Regions from separate parts of the Homo sapiens genome. Here all the other regions are linked to region 1. The links are contacts of gene promoters, found by promoter capture Hi-C in blood cells and fetal thymus (Javierre and others, 2016). All regions are on one chromosome and are shown on one strand. The core of a region is centred on a gene start or on the middle of the fragment in contact, and the rest is flanking DNA. Distances in the headings are between cores, read along the strand shown. Region 1 holds the start of SSRP1 (structure specific recognition protein 1). Region 2 has its middle 5.9 kb from the start of DTX4. Region 3 overlaps FAM111A (FAM111 trypsin like peptidase A). Region 4 has its middle 53 kb from the start of CNTF. Region 5 has its middle 19 kb from the start of CNTF. Region 6 overlaps ZFP91 (ZFP91 zinc finger protein, atypical E3 ubiquitin ligase). Region 7 overlaps ZFP91 (ZFP91 zinc finger protein, atypical E3 ubiquitin ligase).

What was found. Contacts are between HindIII fragments. The CHiCAGO score rates a contact against its expected background, and 5 or more counts as called.
Region 2: a contact is called between a fragment that was not itself captured here and the fragment with the promoter of SSRP1 in region 1, in 1 of 17 cell types (non-activated CD4 T cells). The highest score is 5.6, in non-activated CD4 T cells.
Region 3: a contact is called between a fragment that was not itself captured here and the fragment with the promoter of SSRP1 in region 1, in 4 of 17 cell types (total CD8 T cells, non-activated CD4 T cells, fetal thymus and 1 more). The highest score is 8.2, in total CD8 T cells.
Region 4: a contact is called between a fragment that was not itself captured here and the fragment with the promoter of SSRP1 in region 1, in 4 of 17 cell types (activated CD4 T cells, total CD4 T cells, naive CD8 T cells and 1 more). The highest score is 5.5, in activated CD4 T cells.
Region 5: a fragment that was not itself captured here is called in contact with the fragment with the promoter of SSRP1 in region 1 in 6 of 17 cell types (non-activated CD4 T cells, naive CD4 T cells, total CD4 T cells and 3 more); the score reaches 9.9 in non-activated CD4 T cells.
Region 6: a contact is called between a fragment that was not itself captured here and the fragment with the promoter of SSRP1 in region 1, in 5 of 17 cell types (naive CD8 T cells, total CD4 T cells, activated CD4 T cells and 2 more). The highest score is 8.2, in naive CD8 T cells.
Region 7: a contact is called between a fragment that was not itself captured here and the fragment with the promoter of SSRP1 in region 1, in 5 of 17 cell types (naive CD4 T cells, fetal thymus, total CD4 T cells and 2 more). The highest score is 9.0, in naive CD4 T cells.

Annotation. Positions count from the first base shown.
Region 1 is chr11:57,334,578-57,337,271 of GRCh38, reverse strand. It overlaps SSRP1 (structure specific recognition protein 1), which reads left to right and starts at 1,380. Exons shown (of 17, transcript NM_003146.3): 1 at 1,380-1,542; 2 at 2,032-2,204; 3 at 2,624-2,694. The coding sequence starts at 2,151. It also overlaps a transcript of P2RX3 not described here. RefSeq lists enhancers at 1,242-1,291, 2,142-2,211 and a silencer at 1,462-1,641. The HindIII fragment of the contact is 4,158 bases long and covers 1-1,442 here.
Region 2 is chr11:59,164,846-59,167,539 of GRCh38, reverse strand. No RefSeq gene overlaps it. Among named protein-coding and RNA genes, the nearest start is that of DTX4, 5.9 kb to the left of the region's middle. The HindIII fragment of the contact is 1,273 bases long and covers 751-2,023 here.
Region 3 is chr11:59,145,836-59,148,529 of GRCh38, reverse strand. FAM111A (FAM111 trypsin like peptidase A) reads right to left here. Exons shown (of 6, transcript NM_001312909.2): 4 at 2,674-2,694. Among named protein-coding and RNA genes, the nearest start is that of FAM111A, 4.3 kb to the right of the region's middle. The HindIII fragment of the contact is 5,528 bases long and covers 1-2,694 here.
Region 4 is chr11:58,674,775-58,677,468 of GRCh38, reverse strand. No RefSeq gene overlaps it. Among named protein-coding and RNA genes, the nearest start is that of CNTF, 53 kb to the right of the region's middle. The HindIII fragment of the contact is 5,613 bases long and covers 1-2,694 here.
Region 5 is chr11:58,640,600-58,643,293 of GRCh38, reverse strand. No RefSeq gene overlaps it. Among named protein-coding and RNA genes, the nearest start is that of CNTF, 19 kb to the right of the region's middle. The HindIII fragment of the contact is 4,055 bases long and covers 1-2,694 here.
Region 6 is chr11:58,608,127-58,610,820 of GRCh38, reverse strand. It overlaps ZFP91 (ZFP91 zinc finger protein, atypical E3 ubiquitin ligase), which reads right to left. Exons shown (of 11, transcript NM_053023.5): 3 at 782-991; 4 at 487-523. It overlaps ZFP91-CNTF (ZFP91-CNTF readthrough (NMD candidate)), which reads right to left. Exons shown (of 13, transcript NR_024091.1): 3 at 782-991; 4 at 487-523. Among named protein-coding and RNA genes, the nearest start is that of CNTF, 13 kb to the left of the region's middle. The HindIII fragment of the contact is 4,165 bases long and covers 1-2,694 here.
Region 7 is chr11:58,588,839-58,591,532 of GRCh38, reverse strand. All of the region lies in intron 2 of ZFP91 (ZFP91 zinc finger protein, atypical E3 ubiquitin ligase), which reads right to left. The region is part of intron 2 of ZFP91-CNTF (ZFP91-CNTF readthrough (NMD candidate)); the gene reads right to left. Among named protein-coding and RNA genes, the nearest start is that of ZFP91-CNTF, 11 kb to the right of the region's middle. The HindIII fragment of the contact is 5,379 bases long and covers 1-2,694 here.

The DNA.
Region 1 (2,694 bases), core at 131-2,630:
CACCCGGGCTGGAGTGCAGTGGCACAATCTCAGCTCACTGCAACCTCTGCCTCCTGGGTTCAAGCAATTCTCATGCCTCAGCCTCCTGAGTAGCTGGGATTATAGGCACCCGCCACCACGCCTGGCTAATTTTTGTATTTTTAATAGAGACGGGGCTTCACCACGTTGGCCAGTCTGGTCTCAAACTCCTGACCTCAAGTGATCTCCCTGCCTTGGCCTCCCCAAGTGCTAGGATTACAGGTGTGAGCCACCGTGCCTGGCCGGGGATGTTTTCACCTTGTTCAAGTTTCCTCAAATCTGAGAAGTGTGCTAAAGTAGTAATAGGCCCTCAATATCTATTTATTAAACCCAGTTGAATTTATTTTGCTAGATAATGCTGGAATAGCCACTACTCAGAGGTTAAAGCTATGAGTTCAGGGGAGAAGGGTGCATTCCTGTTGTCTCTTACCCCAGGATTGATTTAGCAAGCTGGTGTATTGATTGTCAGGGAAATCTTGAGCTTACATATTCTGTACTAATGTCTTCATGTAGGACACATATCAATAGTCATTCTGAACATACAGTCACTGTGATTATGACAGAAGATAACTGGACTGGTGGTGTTAAGGAGGTCTGGGTCCTACCTAGCCTTGTTGCCAACGCACTGAGACCCTGGGCAACTCACTCCCCTTTGGGTCTCAGTTTTCCCATCAGTAAAAGGAGGTTGGGGTAGAAAAACTAAAACATCTTTTCCAGGTCTGGTCTCTGATGTTGCAAAATGCACTCTGGGATTATACGGGGGAGACCTGGCTTCCGCAACCACAGGATGATGTGGTTTCAAATCAGTTCTGGCTCCAAGGTGAATCTGACACCAGGACTTGAACTGGATAAGGCCGTTTGCCAGCCTCTTGGAGGTACCTATAATTTTCGGTTAAGGATGTGAAAATTTTGGGTGTAGACAGTGAACTTGACAGTTCAGCCAGAAAGCAGTGCACCCACGATGACACCAACACCCGCATACTCTCCGCAGCCAGTGGGAGAGGTCGTTTCCTCCCACAACTGTTCAAATACTTCTCTTCTTGTCCCATCGACTCCTTTCCATGACATAGAAACTATTTTGCAGAGAAACGGGCACGCATCATTCCAATACACACCCCCACCCCACCCCTGTACTAAGTCTGATACAATAAAACTACACAATTTCTCTTTAGTATCTAGTCTCGACTGAAGAAGTGTCTGTAGTTTCTAAAGAGCCCTACACACATTTTCTAGGCCGGATTCCCCCTGGGTGAGAGAGGCTTCACGGCAACCACCCTTCCCTCAGGTCCTCCAGAGTCGCTGACGCTCTATGCGACTGTCTCGCAGGCGGGCCCGACTCGCGTCTCTCTAGCCAGCTCATCCTCTCTGTGGCCTGTGTACGGCTTCCGGTGGCGGGACGCGGGGCCGCGCACGCGGGAAAAGCTTCCCCGGTGTCCCCCCATCCCCCTCCCCGCGCCCCCCCCGCGTCCCCCCAGCGCGCCCACCTCTCGCGCCGGGGCCCTCGCGAGGCCGCAGCCTGAGGAGGTAGGTGGTGGTCGTCCCCGGTCCCAGGAAGGCAGGGGCCCCGCTCCCCCACGGGACCCTCGACATGGACCATTCCGCGTTCGCAACCGCGGGGAGCGGGCGAATCCATTATGTGGGGCGGGGGTGAACCGTGGGTCTGGGGCCGCGGGGTGGTGGGAGCGGTGCGAGGGAAACCCTGCACTCTGAGCTGGATTGGGTCGCGTGCGATGTGCGGGCTCCTGGCAGACCCTGGGGTTCCGCTGCTCGTTGCCATGGCTCCCGCCGGAGCGGCCAGAGCGGGCGTCGGGTTGGGTGTCAGCGGTATTCCGGGCCCGGTTCTCCACCCAGGCCTGGACCTGGACCCTCGGGCACTGCAGCGTCCGTCTGTAGGTTTCCAGGCAGAGGAAATCCTGAGACATCCAGGCGCAGCTGGGAGTTGCTACCTGGCTCCATCCGTGAGCACAGCGAGGTGCTGTCTTTCATGCTTATCTGTCTTCCTCTTGAATTCAGATTCCCAACCTGCTGAGCATCCGCACACCCACTCAGGAGTTGGGGCCCAGCTCCCAGTTTACTTGGTTTCCCTTGTGCAGCCTGGGGCTCTGCCCAGGCCACCACAGGCAGGGGTCGACATGGCAGAGACACTGGAGTTCAACGACGTCTATCAGGAGGTGAAAGGTTCCATGGTGAGAATGGCTTGGACAGGTGATACAAGTAGAGAGAAGGAAGGAGGGTAGAGTTTTTGTCCATTAATGAGAGCTTGCTTTGGTAACGTTATTTTGGAAAAAGAAGACTCAGTATAATGTGTACCTAGTGTCTCCACCAACTCAAGGCAATACTGAGAGATAGTCTCAGAGTTATAGGGACCGTATATGCTGTTCAGTTCCCAATTCCTGTTTTACAAATGAGGAAACTGAGAATCTGTTAAGGGTTCTAGATACCAGAGTCTGGTTTAGAATCTAGACTCCTTGGCACCCTCAGCTGTTGCTCCTGCATTGATAATCTGGCCAGTCCACTTGCAGCAGGAATGTGTGTTAGGTAGAGCTGTAGAACCCAGGACATGCTGTGTACTGTCTCCATGCATCTGGGCCTGCTTTTCTTACAGAATGATGGTCGACTGAGGTTGAGCCGTCAGGGCATCATCTTCAAGAATAGCAAGACAGGCAAAGTGGACAA
Region 2 (2,694 bases), core at 138-2,637, 1.8 Mb before region 1:
CACACCCACTAATTCCTCCCCACTACCATCCTGTCCATAACTCCTGGCAATAACTAATATGTTCTCCATATTTATGATTTTGTCATTTCAAGAATATTATGCAAATGGATCATAGAGCATTCAATCTTTTAAGATAGGCTTTTTCCACTCAGCTTAATTCTCTAAAGATTCATCCAAGTTGTGTGTATCAAGAGAAGTTTGTTTCTTTTTATTGCTAAGTAGTGTTCCATAGTATCCATGGACCACCTTACTGTTCATCCATGGAAGTTCATATAAGTTGTTTCTAGTTTGGGCTATTATGAATAAAGCTACTATGAACACTCTCATCCAGGTTTTTGTGTGAAGGTAAAGTATCCATTTCTCTGTGATAAATGCCTAGGAGTACAATGGCAAGGTCATAGGGTAGTTGCATGTTTAGCTTTTTTAACAAACTGCCAGTTTTCTAAAGTGGCTGCACCATTTTGAATTTTCACCAGCAATATACCCATGATCTGGTCACTACATCTTCACCATCATTTTTTGGTCAGTATATTTTATTTTAGCCATTTTGGTAAGTGTGTAGAGTTATTTCATTGTTTTTAACTTGTTTCCTTATTGACTAATAATGTTGAACATCTTTCCATGCGTTTATTTGCCATATATGCTCTTTGATATCTGTTCAGGTCTTTTGCTGGTTTCTGTTTTCTATTATTGAAATTAGAGAGTTCTTTTTATATTCTAAATATTGGGCTGGGCACAGTGGCTCAAGCTTGTAATCCTAGCACTTTGGGAAGCCCAGTCAGGAGTTCGATTGCCTGAGCTCAAGAGCTGGAGATCAGCATGGGCAACATGGGGAAACCCTGTCTCTACAAAAAATACAAAAATTAGCTGGCCGCGGTGGTGCAGGCTTGTGGTTTCACCTACTTGTGAGGCTGAGGTGGGAGGATCGCTTGAGTCTGGGAGGTTGAGGCTGCAGTGAGCTGTGATGGTGATGTTGCACTCCAGCCTGGGCAACAGAGTGAATCCTAGTCTCAAATAAATAAATAAATAAATACTCTTGGTGGATATATAGTTTGAAAATATTTTTTCTCAATCTGTAGCTTATGTTTTCCATGCTCTTCATAGCGTCTTTCACAAAACAAAAGTTTTTTAATTTGATAAAATACAACTTACCAAATTTTTTTTTTCTAAATGGCTTCTGTTTCCCATGTTAATTTTAAGAACTCTTTGGCTAGTCCTAAGATTTGAATATTTTTTTCCTCTGTTTTGTTCTAAAACTTTCATACTTTTACAACTTCCATGTAAATCTACAATCCATTCTGAGTTAAATTTTTGTGTATGGAGTGAGGTTTGAGTGTCTTTTTATGTGTTTATTTGCCTATAGATGTATTGTCCTAGCGCTATTTGTTGAAAAGGCTTTTCTTCCTCCTTTGAATTGCTTTTGAGTCTTTGTAAAAAAATCAGTCTGGCATATTTGTGTAGATCTATTTCTGGTTTCTCTAGTCTGTTCCATTGACCTATATGTCTGTCCCTTCACCACTACTGCACAATGTTGATTAATAAGCTGTATTAATAAGCTATGTAATGTCTTATTGTAAATTGGGTAGATTGATTCATCTCACTTTATTCTTCTTCAAAATTGTTTAGGCTATTCTGGATCCTTTGATTTCCACATAAATACTAGAATAATCTTGTCTATATGTGCAAAAATTCTTGCTGGGATTTTGATAGGAATTGCATTGAAGCTGTATATCAATTTGAGGAGAATTGACATATTTTTACTGTGTTAAGTCTTCCAATCCATAAACACGATATGGATATGCTTCTCTATTTATTTAGATCTTCTTTGTTTTATGTGTTTTCTAGTTTTCAGCATACCTATCCAGTTCATTTTTTGCTCAATGTACACTTAAGTAGTTCATTTTGTTTCAGAGTGATTATATTAATAAATGGCATTCTATTTTTAATTTTGGTTCCACGTACTTATTGCTGGTACATATAAATACAATGGATTTTTGTATGTTTATTTAGTATCTTGTAAGCTTGCTAAGGAGTCCAAATCTGGGTCTAAGAGTTCTTTTATAGATTCCTTAGGAGTTTACATGTCATCTCCAAATAGGGACAATTTTGTTTCTTCATTTCTGATCCTTATGCTTTTCTTTTCTTTTCTTTTCTTTCTTTCTTTTTTTTTTTGAGACGGAGTCTTGCTCTGTCGCCCAGGCTGGAGTGCAGTGACGCAATCTCGGCTCACTGCAAGCTCCGCCTCCCAGGTTCACGCCATTCCCCTGCCTCAGCCTCCCGAGTACCTGGGACTACAGGCGCCCGCCACCACGCCTGGCTAATTTTTTGTATTTTTAGTAGAGACGGGGTTTCACTGGGTTAGCCAGAATGGTCTTGATCTCCTGACCTCGTGATCCGCCCGCCTTGGCCTCCCAAAGTGCTGGGATTACAGGCGTGAGCCACCGCGCCCGGCCGATCCTTATGTTTTTCATTTCCTTTTCTTGCCTTACTTAGAATTGTATTACCTGGAATTTCCAGTACTATGTTTAATACAGTTGTGAGAATAGACATTCTTGCCTTGTTTCTGATCTTAGATAACATCTAGTTTTTCACTAAGAACTGTGATAATAGCTGTAGGTGTTCATTTTAGATGTTCTTTATCAAGTTGAGGAAGTTTTCCTCTATCCTTATTTTTCTGAGAGTTTTTTAAATCAT
Region 3 (2,694 bases), core at 69-2,568, 1.8 Mb before region 1:
GCTGATGGGGAAAGTATAGCTTAGAGAAGGTAGACGAACTGCCCAAGGCCAGAGCTATGTGGCAGAGATGGAATTCAAATGCAAGTATAAATAATAGAATAATTTTCAGTTGGAAATTTCAAAAAGCTGTTCTAGTTACATTGATGTTAAAATCTGTTATTCATTTAAGATGAAGATGGCAAGGGGAGATAAAATTACAGGGAAGTGGTGAGGATAGAGCTGAGGAAAGAAACTTGGAATGAGATTTTAAAAAGAAATCTGGAAAGTTTGCTAGGGATGATAGTCAGAAACCTTAGTTGCTGCTTTAGATTTTTTGTTTAAAGAGGTATTTTTCCTTCTATCTCTCCTCTGATGTCTCCCTAGAAGAGGATGAACAAACTTTAAATAAAATAGTGACATCTTCAATAGTAATAAATACCGCTAGAAAGATAAATACCATTGAGGGCAGCAGCCATGTCTGTCCTTAGTACCTCAATATTTCAAAACAATGTCTGAGACATGTCAGGCCCTTGAAAAAGATACATTTCTAAAGATACATTCAATAAACGAATGGAGTAGGCATATGGTGTACTATGCCCTGTTCTAAGTGCTTTTCATCAACTATCTCATGTAATTCTTACAACCCTATGAGATAGGTACTATTTGTCTCATTTTACTGGCAAAAGAGCTTGAACACCCAGGGAGATTAAACTTTTACTCAAGGTCATAAAACTCAGAGAATATACTTTCAGGACTTTTTATTATGAACAATTTATTAGAGAAAAAATGAGAGAATGGTATAATGAACTTCTACATACCTATCACATAGTTAATTGTTCATTTTTTTGCCAATTTATGTAACAGTGAAACAGTAAAAGAACTAACATAAAGAACTCTATTTTTGTTCACGGGGTCTTTATCCATTCATGCATGGAGGGGAGGTTAATTTTAGAGCAGTGAGATAATATGCAAAAAAAATGTAGTTTTAAAAACTAGCTCTGGGATTAAAGGGAAAGTATGTAAACAACTATGGATTGTTAAAAATTTACAGGAGGGTTGTGACCTGGAGAACAAATATAAATATAATCTTTAGATAACTTCCATTTGACAAGAAATACAGGGGCTAGAACATAAGCTAAACAACAACATGTAGAAGCAGCCCAGGAAATTAACATTCTATAGAGACAACTTATCTGTTCTCTTCAGCAAATCAATGCTTGGGCTCACTGGAACATCAGGACAAAGACATTCCCAACCTTCTTGGATCCTTGATGGTGCTCAGATGTCTCCAGTCAATGGTCACCTCTTGATCGTAAATCCCTTCTCTTCCCCATGCCCTTAACATAAAGAGCCTGAAACTTGTACTCACTTAAGAGGCTACTTTGGGTTGCTAGTCTGCCATCTTCTCAGTTTGCTGGCTCTCTGAATGAACCTGCTTTTCCTCCCACCAACTCTCATCTCTCATGTTTGGCTTTGAGGTGTGAGTTGCCAAACCCGGGTTTGGCTACCCTTACACCATCCTTTTATTTTACTAGATGATTTATGTTACAGCTAGAAACATCATGACATTTAAACGCTAATGGTCACTTCCCATCTCTAAAAATTACATAATTTTTCTTTTATAATCACAATACTGATTTATTCATACCAAGATCCAACTGAGGTACACAGTTTCCTTTATATGTCTTATAAGGCTCTTTTATTCTAGAAAAAGCACTGATTTGTTGAAGAGAACAGAGAAATTGTCTCTATAGAATGTTCACCTCCTGGGTTGTTTCCTCATGTCATTGTTTAACTTATGTTCTAGCCCCTGTATTTCTTGTCAAATGGAAGTTATCTAAAGGCTATGTTTACTCTCGTAACCATTCCACTATGGAACAAGAGTCCTGGCTTTCTAGTTTACTGTCAGTCATTGACTAGGGAAATTCATTTAGCCTTTCTGAGCCTCAATTTCTTGTTTGTAAAAAGAAGCAATGATTCTAAATGAGATAATGAATATGGAAGTGCTAAAATAATGTTAGAACTTATAAAACTGTCTGAGTTCAAATATCAGGTAGCCACTTACTAGCTGCATGACCTTGGGCATATTAATTAACTATTCTTCCTTCATTTTCCTCACCTTAAGGTGGGAATCAACCTTGTTATAAAGATTAAGAAATATATTGTGGTCTGGGTGCGGTAGCTCATGCCTGTAATCTCAGCACTTTGGGAGGCCAACGCTGATGGATCACTTGAAGTCAGGAGTTCGAGGCCAGCTTGGCCAACCTGGTGAAAACCTGTCTCTACTAAGAATTAAAAATTAGCTGGGCATGGTGGTGGGTGCCTGTAATCCCAGCTACTTGGGAGACTGAGGCAGGAGAGTGGCTTGTACCTGGGAGGCAGAGGTTGCAGTGATCCGAGATCACACCACTGCCCTCCAGCCTGAGGCCTGAGCAACAGAGCGAGACTTCATCTCTCTCTCTCTCTCTCTGTCACACACACACACACAATATATATATACACACATACACACACATATTATATATATTATATATGCAATCTATCTATATATACAGTGTGTGTAAATATATATATATATAGAGAGAGAGAGAGAGCATATGCAAAGCCTTTAAAACACTGCCTGTATGTAATAGGTCCCCCAGTAAATAATCAATAAAAAGGTCATGTAAATGTTATCAATATCAATACACTCACCACAGGGATACTTTTTAAACA
Region 4 (2,694 bases), core at 85-2,584, 1.3 Mb before region 1:
GAGTATGTTCCAAATTGTGGCAATTATTTGCCATTGCTGTGTGAGTCCCTCCCCTCATCCAAGGGTCAGTAGTACTTGTTATTTCTTCAACTGCCTAATAGTTCAGCTGGCAGTGCTCCTACTTGAAAAATGCTTAGCAAAAATCAAAATGGAGTCAAGGGTCAACCCGCCAAGTTATGCATAAACTAGCTCTGATAAATAACAGCCCTGAGTGAAATTTGTTCCAACTTGTACATCTGTTGATTTTGAGCTGGTCCTTCTCTTCTTGCCTTTCAAACACAACTTTCACTCGTGTATTACAGGTGTTGATGGGTTTGATGGAAGCCCAAACCTCAGCAATACACAATATATCTATGTAACAAAGCTGCACATGTACCCCCTGTTATAAAAAAGAAGTCAGGAGAGGTGGCATTTGCCTGTAGTCCTAGCTACATGGGAGGTAGGCAGGAGGATCACTTGAGCCCAGAAGCTGCAGTGAGCTGTGATCTTTCCACTGCACTCCAGCTGGGTGACAGAGTGAGACCCTGTGTCTAAAAACACAGAATAGATAGATAGATAGATGATAGATGATAGATAGATAGATAGATAGATAAGATAGGTAAATAGAAGATAGAGATATAGATGATAGATAGGTAGATAGATAGGAGATAGATGATAGATAGATAGAGATAGGTAAATAGAAGATATAGATAGATAGATAATAGATAGATGATAGATAGATAGATAGATAGATAGATAGATAGATAGATAGATAGATAGATTCATGGGTGTTGAAAACAGAGCAAGCAGTAAGGAGGCCAGTGTGGGAAAGGGAAGAGTTGAGGGAGATAAGGGCAAAAAGATACAAGGGGTAATCACGTGTAGGGTCTTGTGGGCCATGGTGAAGACTGTGGCTATTTTTCTGAGCAGGGCTTTGAGCAAGAGACAGACATCCATGACTGAGGGGCTGTATTGAGATGAGATTGTGGAAAGGCAAAGGTGGAAGCAAGGAGACAGTGAAGGGTTGGACCAGAGTGGGAATGGTGGAAATGTTGAGAAGTGGTAGGACACTTTAAAGGTAATGCCAAAAGGATTTGCTGACTGATTGAACGTGCGGTGTGGAGGCCACGAAAATTCACGCCTCAGACCTCCTTCTGTCAGTAATATCATTGACCAGTGACCCTAGTAGCTGGCTTTGAAATCCACCCTTCTTACTTCTGATTTCATGCTTCTCACGGGCTTCTCCTGCCTGTAACAGCACAGCAGGAAGACAGGGGACTCTTCTGATGGGGCAATTTTCACCCAAGAACCCCGTGGGCCTAATACCTCCTCTTTTTTTCTCTCCACGAGGGAGACTTAAAGTAGACTTAGATTGCAGACTGACAGCTCTCCCAGCCTCCCCCAGCTCCCTTTCTTTTTGCTTCACAGTCTCCTAATAAATCTCCTGCACATCTAATCCAGTCCAGGAGTTTCAGAAGACCTGGACTAAGGGAGAGAAAGTAGTTCAAGAATGACAACAAGGTCTAGGAAATTGGAATGATGGAGATGACATTTCCTGAATGTATGCCTGCGTGAATAACACTTCCATAGCCTCATAGGTATCCTGGCACTGGTTTGCTGGATGATTTGAATTTGTATTACCTATATGGCTTTGGAGAAAGCCCTTGACAACGTTCAGGACAAAGTGTGCCTGGAGATCCCAGGGCAGTCCCTTGCTCTGGACTTTGCGGACTCCGCTCCGCCAGCAGAGGGCAGCAGAGGTAGCCAAGGCTGCAGAACCAGGATCCCTCCCTGAGAACGCTGAAAGATGATGAGTGCCTCTGAGTTTAAGTTGTTGAGATTTCAGGTGATTTTAGCCTCATGCATAGTATGTATCTATTCACAAAGATTGTGAAATTCACGGATGAAGGAAAAGAGGAGACTTTATTTGCAGAAGGCAAAACAATCCACGGATCTAGGAAACGCTGCCCTGGGGAGAGGGAAAGTGCACTTTGCGCAGAACGGAGGAGGGCTGCTATTTGGTATCTGGGTCGCACACTCAGCCTTACATACATACTAGCAGGGTGGGGAAAAAATGCAAATATGCATGAGGGAAGTCAGGCATTGCACAGTGGAAAACATATATGGAACATACATCCCATATTCACATTTTGGTAGGATTTAACATTAAAATGAAGTGGAATTCGGCCCTTTACATCAAAAGGTAAACTACAGGACATACAGACAATTTTTGAACAATGTCCACAAGCTGACTGAAACTGGCTTAAGGTCTGCAGCTATTGATCAATAAGGAATGTTTATAAGACCCGTCCTCTGTCCAATCTGACTTATGGCAGGACAGCATGGTAGAGGACGGAGCCAGGCAAGGTAGGGAAGAGTGTTGTAGTGTTGTAGGACTTTCTCCTTAGTTCGGCTAAAAGCCAGGTTCTTCTCGCACAACCATGAAAAGTTAGGCTTGCGGACACTCTGCAGGGTGAGAAGGACAGGGTTTATTGGGTGAAAAGGAAAAATGGGGAAACAGGGACTCTCAGCAAAGCGAGAGTCCTGCCAGTGGGCTTCCCACCTCATAGACTGGAATCACCGGGTTACCACCCGGAACAGGAGAAGCCAGGCTCCTCCTCACTGCAAACCAACAGGAAATTCCTCAAGGCTTCACCCGAGTGCGCACTCCTCCCAGTGCGCAGGCCAGTCGGAAGTCCTGCCGGGGAACCCTTT
Region 5 (2,694 bases), core at 74-2,573, 1.3 Mb before region 1:
TTCCATACATTGAAACCCAAAACCTCTATTTTTAACAGGCTTAATTGGGAGCCAATGCTATAAACAACGAGCCACTGCAGGTTTTTGTCTCAGAGTTTGCCATGATCCCAGCTGTCCTTCAGGAGATGGGAATACTTGTTGGAAGGTTGCAGAAATTACCTAGAGAACATATAACGATGGTATGAATTATGAGTCTCGAGGACATGGTTAATTTAGTGATGCTAGTCATGGCTTTTCTCTGTCTCTGTCTCTGTCTCTCCCTGCTAGTTCTCTGCATCTCTTTCATGAGTCTGGGTCTTCTCCACGCTAAATACTGAGAGTATATATATCCATTGTCAAGTGAGGCAGACCCATGAGAAATCCTTAAGAAAAAGTATCTCAAGAAAGACAGGAAGACTGCAGGAAGCAAGGGATTGCCAGGTGCCTAGTAGTTTCTTTAAACCTACAAGTTTATTGTTCAGGTGATCTTCTCCTGTGTATGTTGGGGTAGAGATGAGGTGCACAAGGAGAGAATAGAAGTTATTTGGAGATTTAACTCAGAATTGCCCTCAGATTGAATCGAGGATGAGAAAGGTCTCAAGACCCTATATGGGATTGAGAACTAAAATTTAAACCTTAAGCACCCACCCCAACCAATTGAACAGACTCTCTCTTGGCCAAGGAGACCTCAGAGAAACCTTAAAAATGGAGTTCCTGGCCATAAGGAGACAAGAGATCACACAAGCCTCGTTATATCCTCTCCCTTTTGTATACAGACACACCAACTGACCAGCATGAATGTTAAAATAGAGATCATATGACTGACAGAACAGACTCTTTGTGGCAGTAAGATATCCAATTATAAACAGGACCTACGCCCATGTCAGGCAAAGGTTAAGTCACGCACCCCTACACTTAAAGAATAAACTTTGTTTTAACTGCCACAAGGTTTTTCTTTCTTAAGCAGCTCAACAAGCACTGGCCTCAAGGAAAGCAATATTAAAATAACTGCAGCTCATTCACCACCATGTGCTGACTAACCGACCTCCTGTTCCACAAGCCATAACTACAGCTTTGATTAGACAAGAAAGAGATTTCAGTAACTTTCCTGGTAAAAGACCACCGACTATGGACTGGTTCTGGTCGGTTTTATAGAGGCTTTGCACTTGAGAACATTTATGTCCCTGTTTTATCTTCTGAAATATAGACAGCCTCATTGTAATAAATTTAAATGTTAAGTACCCTCTCCAATATGAACATAGATCATTTGTAGCATGCATGTTTATTCAGTATGCATGCATCAGAAACCACTTGGTGAATATTCATAGCTTCTCCTGTAACCTGTTGAATATGTATATTTAGCCAACCTATGTAGCATAAAGCTCCTGCCTCAACCCCTCCTTCTTCAAAGTACTGCCTTTCGGTCTCTGTTGAAGGTACACTTCTCAGCCTGTCAGGATGACCATTGGCAGGCTATAACCCTTTATGAGAAATAAAGTCCTGTGTCCAAATCTGCATAGATCTCATGATTTTTCTGTTGGCAAAATTCAGGATCCCTGGGCTACCCCTGACATTAAATTATAAGCCCACTAGACTAAAAGTCCCTCAGACCCCTCAGCCTATCTGTCCCTTAATTAGTATAATCATGGTTAAGTTACTTTTTGTGCCTCTCCTCCTCACATTCACAGATGTTTACAGGAAAAAAAAAAAAAAAGTCAAGGAGATTAAGTCACTTGCCCAGGGTCTGAGAGCCACTAAGCGCAGAGCCATATCTCGAGTCCAGTTCTGTTGAACTCCAATAAACATCTCCTTTCTATTTCCTTCATTTTCTATTATTGCCTCTTCTCCTTTCACAGGGCTCTGATTGTAAAAATATATAGGCAGATAACACTGCAGTTGATAACATTACACTTCTATTGAAAGAAGTTTTTCTTCCTTTGCGATATTATTTCAGATCACTTTGCATCCTCATTTATTCATTCATGGATTCCTTCCCAGCCATCCGTGGAGAGATATGTAGGGTGTGAAATGAGACTCCTACATGCAGGGCCAATATTTAGCCAGTAACCTCAGGAAGGTCATTTGCAGCCAATGTTAGTTCTGATTGGCTGGGGCTGCAACTTGCAGAGTAGTAAATATTTTGACTATTGCCCTTGACTATCTGCCAGAATAATTGTCTGCATTTGTATCCCCTATGGTGCTCAATTAGAATGCACACAGCCCAAGAGAGTGAGGCAGGGTAGGAGGCGGTCTGAGTCTGGAAATACAGGCAAGAGACACAGGGTCAGGGCCATCTCTGCTCCAATCTGTCTTTGTGTGACCTTGTGCACATCACTTCTTTTCTCTGGGAATCAGCTTCTCCATAGGCAAAAGTATATATGGCCTGGCACTATTATATTTTTGTAAAAGAAAGTAGTATGTGCCTATGTGCCTGGGTCCATGTGTGCACACATAGAAACATGTCTGGAAGGTGACACACCTCCTATTTACAGTGGTTATCTCTGGGAAGCACAGCTGGATGAAGAAGGTATTTTTTACCTTATATAACCTCTTTACACTTTTAATTTTCCATAACAAGCATGTGTTGTAATTTTTTTAAGTTAACAGCTAAAAAGTCCTGTTTGTTCCTGTTTTACAGGAAGTCACACTTCTTTTCTAAGGTCACATGAGGACTTGGCATCTGACTCTGAAGACTGTCTTGCCTGCATCGTCCTT
Region 6 (2,694 bases), core at 124-2,623, 1.3 Mb before region 1:
TAATTGGACTGAAATCTAGCTGTTTTATCACAAAGAATAATAATTGAAACTAAAAAGACATAAATCCTAGATAAAGACAGGGTGATGACAACTCAATGGCATTAAAAGTTAAGAAACAACTGACTTTGTAATACTGTCTGGTGATCTGCTATATTAAAAGACCTACTAACAGATAAATCACAACACAAAAGATTCCAATAAAATCTCAAAACCTTGGCCAAAACACCCATATTTCACATTAGTGCCTACCATGGAATAAGTCCAAACACAGAAGATACTCAAGACATGATTTCTAAGCTATGTAAGTAGATTACATGGTTTAAGTTCTAATCAAGCTCAACATGGAATCTAAATGCAGTATCAAAACTGAAGTTAATTTCTCTTACAGCTCAAAATAATTTCAAATGGAAGCAACTTCTGAATCATTTACTGTGACTATGCTATGTCCCCAAAGGTTTAAAAATGAAATATTAATGTTTTTTTTACCTAATGCCACCTGGAGACTGATGCTCTTCTCCAACATCTAGAAAAACAAAGCCAAAAACAAAATTTTATTAGTGTAGATATAAGATATTTTCTCTCTGCAGTCAAGAAATGCAAATCAAATTACTGCATGGGGTAATTATACAAAAGCAGAATATCTGCAAACTGTTCAAAGAAATACCACCTACACCATCAAACCTGCCCCTGACAGTTAAGCTGTTAACACAAATGTTCAACATTACATTTAAAATGTAACAGCAACTAGTTAGTAAACAGCCATATTCTAGTTGCACTGTACCATAATCAAGTTGGTCTGTATTTGGTTCTGACTTGCAAATGAGCTGCAATGAACCGGTCTTGGACCGAGAGCTTCGGGTGTTCTCTGTATCACGATGGCGAGAAACAGATGTCCTACTACTACGCCAGCCCCGGCTAGGTCTAGATGCAGCAATGGAAACTTCCTGAGGGAGGGCAGAATCGTCTTCTTCCTCTTTTTCTTCCTTGGGATCTAAATAAAAAGACATACCATTCTCTTTAAGTTTACAGTTAACCAATAACCATCCCTGTATATCTACTAATTGTAAATACAGTTGAAGATAAATTAAATATTTTCAAAGGAAAAAAAACTGAAGACTTTAATTGAAATAATAAAAAAAGGAAAATGAGATAAAACTTATCCTTAATGTCATCATGCTAAAGAAATTACTTCATGTTGCAAAGTAGTAATTTTATACTGCCTTATCTTCTAAAAAATGCAATGCTAACTATGCAAAATACACTTAAGTAACTGGATTCATGAAATTCTACCTTTTAGATCTAAGTTAAAAGAAACTAAATTAATTAGTCCCAAAAAGATGACCAGAACTACAGAGGCACCAAAAAGAAAGAACCATAGATCTAGATGTTATTTACAACCAAACAAGTCTATAACAAATTACTAAAGAGGAATTCCTAACAGGAGTACTTTTCACTCTAATCAAGAGTTTTTCTTGGAACCACACCATAAATTTGAACTAATCTATAGAGCAATTGAATGGTAAAGTCCAGCTCTGGTGCTATTCTGTTTCAGTTGTCCTATAAGACATTGTGTACAGGAGCACACACAAATCTGTTATTGTTATCCTATATTTTGTCATGTTTTAAGGGTGAAGTACGGTAGGTCATCCTCTCTTGAGTAGTAAGTAATAAAAAGTTAATCTCAGAAACTGGCTTTCATACCTGGCGTAGCTAAATACTTAGACCTATATAAAAAAAAAGTACATTAGAATTGAGCCCATTTTAACAATAGAAGATTCTTTAATAAACTCAGAACGGGAAAGGCCCAATAATAAAACAAAATTTCAGGTCATAAGATACACATAAAAACAATTTTCCTCATGGCAAAAATCAACCATAAACAAAGTCTAATAACCCAATAGAAAAATAGGAACTAACAGGCCGGGCTCAGTGGCTCACACCTGTAATCCCAGCACTTTGAGTGGCCAAGGCGGGCAGATCAAAAGGTCAGGCGTTTGTGACCAGCCTGGCCAACGTGGTGAAACCCCGTCTCTACCAAAAATACAAAAGGTAGCCAGGCGTCGTGGTGCCTAACTGCAATCCCAGCTACTGGGGAGGCTGAGGCAGGAGAATCACTTGAACCCGGGAGGTGGAGGTTGCAGTGAGCTGAGACTGCGCCACTGCACTCCAGCCTCGGCGAAAGAGCAAGACTCCATTCCAAAAAAAGAAAAAACAAAAAACAAAAGCTCAAAGCTCAATCCACTCAGAACAAGAGACTCAAATGAAAACGATAGCATGACACCATTTTTCATGTATCATATTGGGGATGATCATATTTGACAACATAATGTATTGTCAAGACTGTGGGAAAACAGGTCCTCTAACACACATATGATAATGTATTAGCAAAACCTCCATGCAGACCAATTTGACAATATACATCAAAATTATAAATGTATATACCTTTCCACATGATGTTCAACTACTAGAAATTTATCCTACAAAATTACAATCATATTTATAAATGATTAACATATAGCACTGTTTTTAAGTAGTAGAAGAGTAGAAAACAACATTCAAAGAGGGATTGGTTTCACAAATAATTGTGTACATATGTAAGAGAGAGATATATATGTAAGATATATATACACACAAATATATAACTTATGAAACCAATCCCCCTTTGAATGTTTAGTTGTCTACTCTTCTACTACT
Region 7 (2,694 bases), core at 73-2,572, 1.3 Mb before region 1:
TGTGATAGGTGTGCAATTCATACAATGTACCAAGATCCCTAAATTGTACATTTGAAATGGGTGAATTTTATGATGTATAAATTACATCCCAATAACACTATATTTCAAAAATATACATCACAGTACTAGTCATAAAGACTAATAACTGAAAACTGCCCAAACATCCATCAACAGTAAAACAGTTAAACTGTGGTTATATTCCCACAATGGGACACTATACAACAACTAAAATAAACGATCTATGACAAACACAGCATTTGTCACAAATGATGAGCAAAATAAGCGAGACACAAAAGAGTGCCTACTGTATTATCCCATTTATGTAAAATTCAAAAATTGGCAAATCTAATTTCTGCTAAAGTCAAAATAGTGGTTACACTTGGGGGCGGTTGACTTGAAGGAGCATAAGGGAGTTTCCAAAACAATTATGTTTTATTTCTTCAGTTGTGTAAATGGTTACATGATTGGGCTCACCCTGGGTCCACCCACTTATAAAATAAAGAAGGGGGAGGAGAAACAAGAGTACATGTATATGTCTTATAATATGTGCATTTCTGTATACGTATGGTACATTTTAATAGGATTTCTCTAAAAATCACCTGTAATCTCAGGAAAAAAAAAAAACCCAGAAATATCAAATGCCCTTCAGTTAGGTAACGGTTAAATAATAGAATATAAATGTACAGTAGCCATGACTGGATATCCACAAAGCATCTAGGCACCTCTTCTTTCTTAAAGAATCAATCCCACTCTTAAACACAGTGGGAATCCCAATTAAGCTAAGCTAACAGCATCAAAAAATATGAAATACTCAGGGATATATGGGATAAAAAATTTGAAAGACCTATACACTGAAAAGTACAAAACATTGCTGAGTAAAATTAAAAACCTAAGTAAATGGAGCAGTATATCTTGCTTATAGGGTTGTAAATACTAATATAAATTTTATTTTGATTTTATGACTTCGATTTTCTATTTTTTGTTGCTGATATACAGAAATACAACTGATTGATTATACTGTGGGGGTGGTTTCAAGACACCTTGCAGTTACTGCCTTCAGGATTTTGGAACACTGCGCCACAACCACCATAATATAAAACAAGTCTGAACTGAATGACCAATGAGGAGGGGGGAATGGCCCAACCAGTAAATAATAAATTGCTGTGTTTTAAGCCACTAAATTTTTAGATGGTTTGTTATGAAGCTAAAGAAGCCTTTGCCCGGATAGCATTAGATTATTCAGGCTGGTTTTAATTCAGAGGAATTTCTTCTTTCTTGAACTTAACAGTCAAGGGGCAATATTACTTTTTGTCACAGATTCTTATCCACTAAGGCTCATTTCAAAATGAAGATACAAGCAAGTCTCTCTTAAAGGTTTTGGATTTGTACTGGCTGAATATGGCTTTCCCCACTAAGGATTTTAAGTTTCCTCTGCTTCAGTTTTCTTCTATCAGGGCATTCTGCTTTAACTCTCAAGTGGTCTTGGCAGGAAAAGGGATCTCAATGTAAAATAATATATATAGCAGAATAAACTTATAACTGTGTCGAAGATGGCAATAAGTTGAGCTGTAATAGGCAAATTATTATAAAGTTAAGACTCATTTACCTGATAGGTAATCCCATAACTGAAATAAGCTGATGATCAAGGCTTTTTAAGCCTACATCACAATTCACATATTATAAGTGACATATATCTTTATTTGTAGGAAATTAATAATGGAAAAGAACCAAAGGAGGTTTGGATGTCTGAACTAGCAATACGGATTAAAGGATCTGGGCCATACCCAACATGGAACAAGATGTCTGAGTAAATTATTCTCATACTAAGAGAAATAATACAGTTACTGCTACCTTAAGATAAAAGATTAGGAAGGAAGGACAAACAAAAATGTCTATCTACTGTATTTAGCCTTTGAGGCTTGAACATTATATTGTCAGAAACTTGAGTTTCTGAAACCTAACTGAACTACTCTGTGTATTTCTATCACTAGCTGCACTTTGTTTTCCATAAATAATTAAAGTTTGCTTTGAAATATTAGCCAATCTCAGTAGTATTAAGAGAAGCCAGGGAAAGAGGCTTTTGTTGTTGTTGTTGTTTTTAACTTACATTTAAATTTAGAACAGTATCATTTAATTGGTAAAGGGGAATATTTCAGTTAAAACTAACAGGCTGGGTGTAGTGGCTTATGCCTATAAATTCCAGCACTTTGGGAGGCCGAGGCAAGAGGACTGCCTAGCCAGACCAGGCTAGGCAACACAGTGAGACCCTGTCTCTACAAAAAAATCAAAAACAATTAGCTGGAAATGGCGGCACACTTCTGTAGTCCCAGCTACTTGGGAAGCTGAGGCAGGAGGATGGCTTGAGCCCAGGAGATCAACACTGCAGTGGGCCATGATCACACCACTGCACTCCAGCCTGGGCAATAAAATGAGACCCTGTCTCAAAAACAAACAAAAAAAACCTTAAAAGCCTATCTGAGTGTTAAGACTGGGCTTATACACGCCCTTTCTCACCTACAGATTTTCCTTCCAGAACTCTTTTTCTATTCAAAACCTAAAAGATTTTATTTTGACTGGGAAAACTAGGTCATTAGCAAGGAGATTCAAAATCTTTCAAGAAAGAATTGTGAAGACAATGTTCTCAGTATCTTCTCGATTCTTCCTTTTGTACACAAACTCAAATGGTAAGAATTA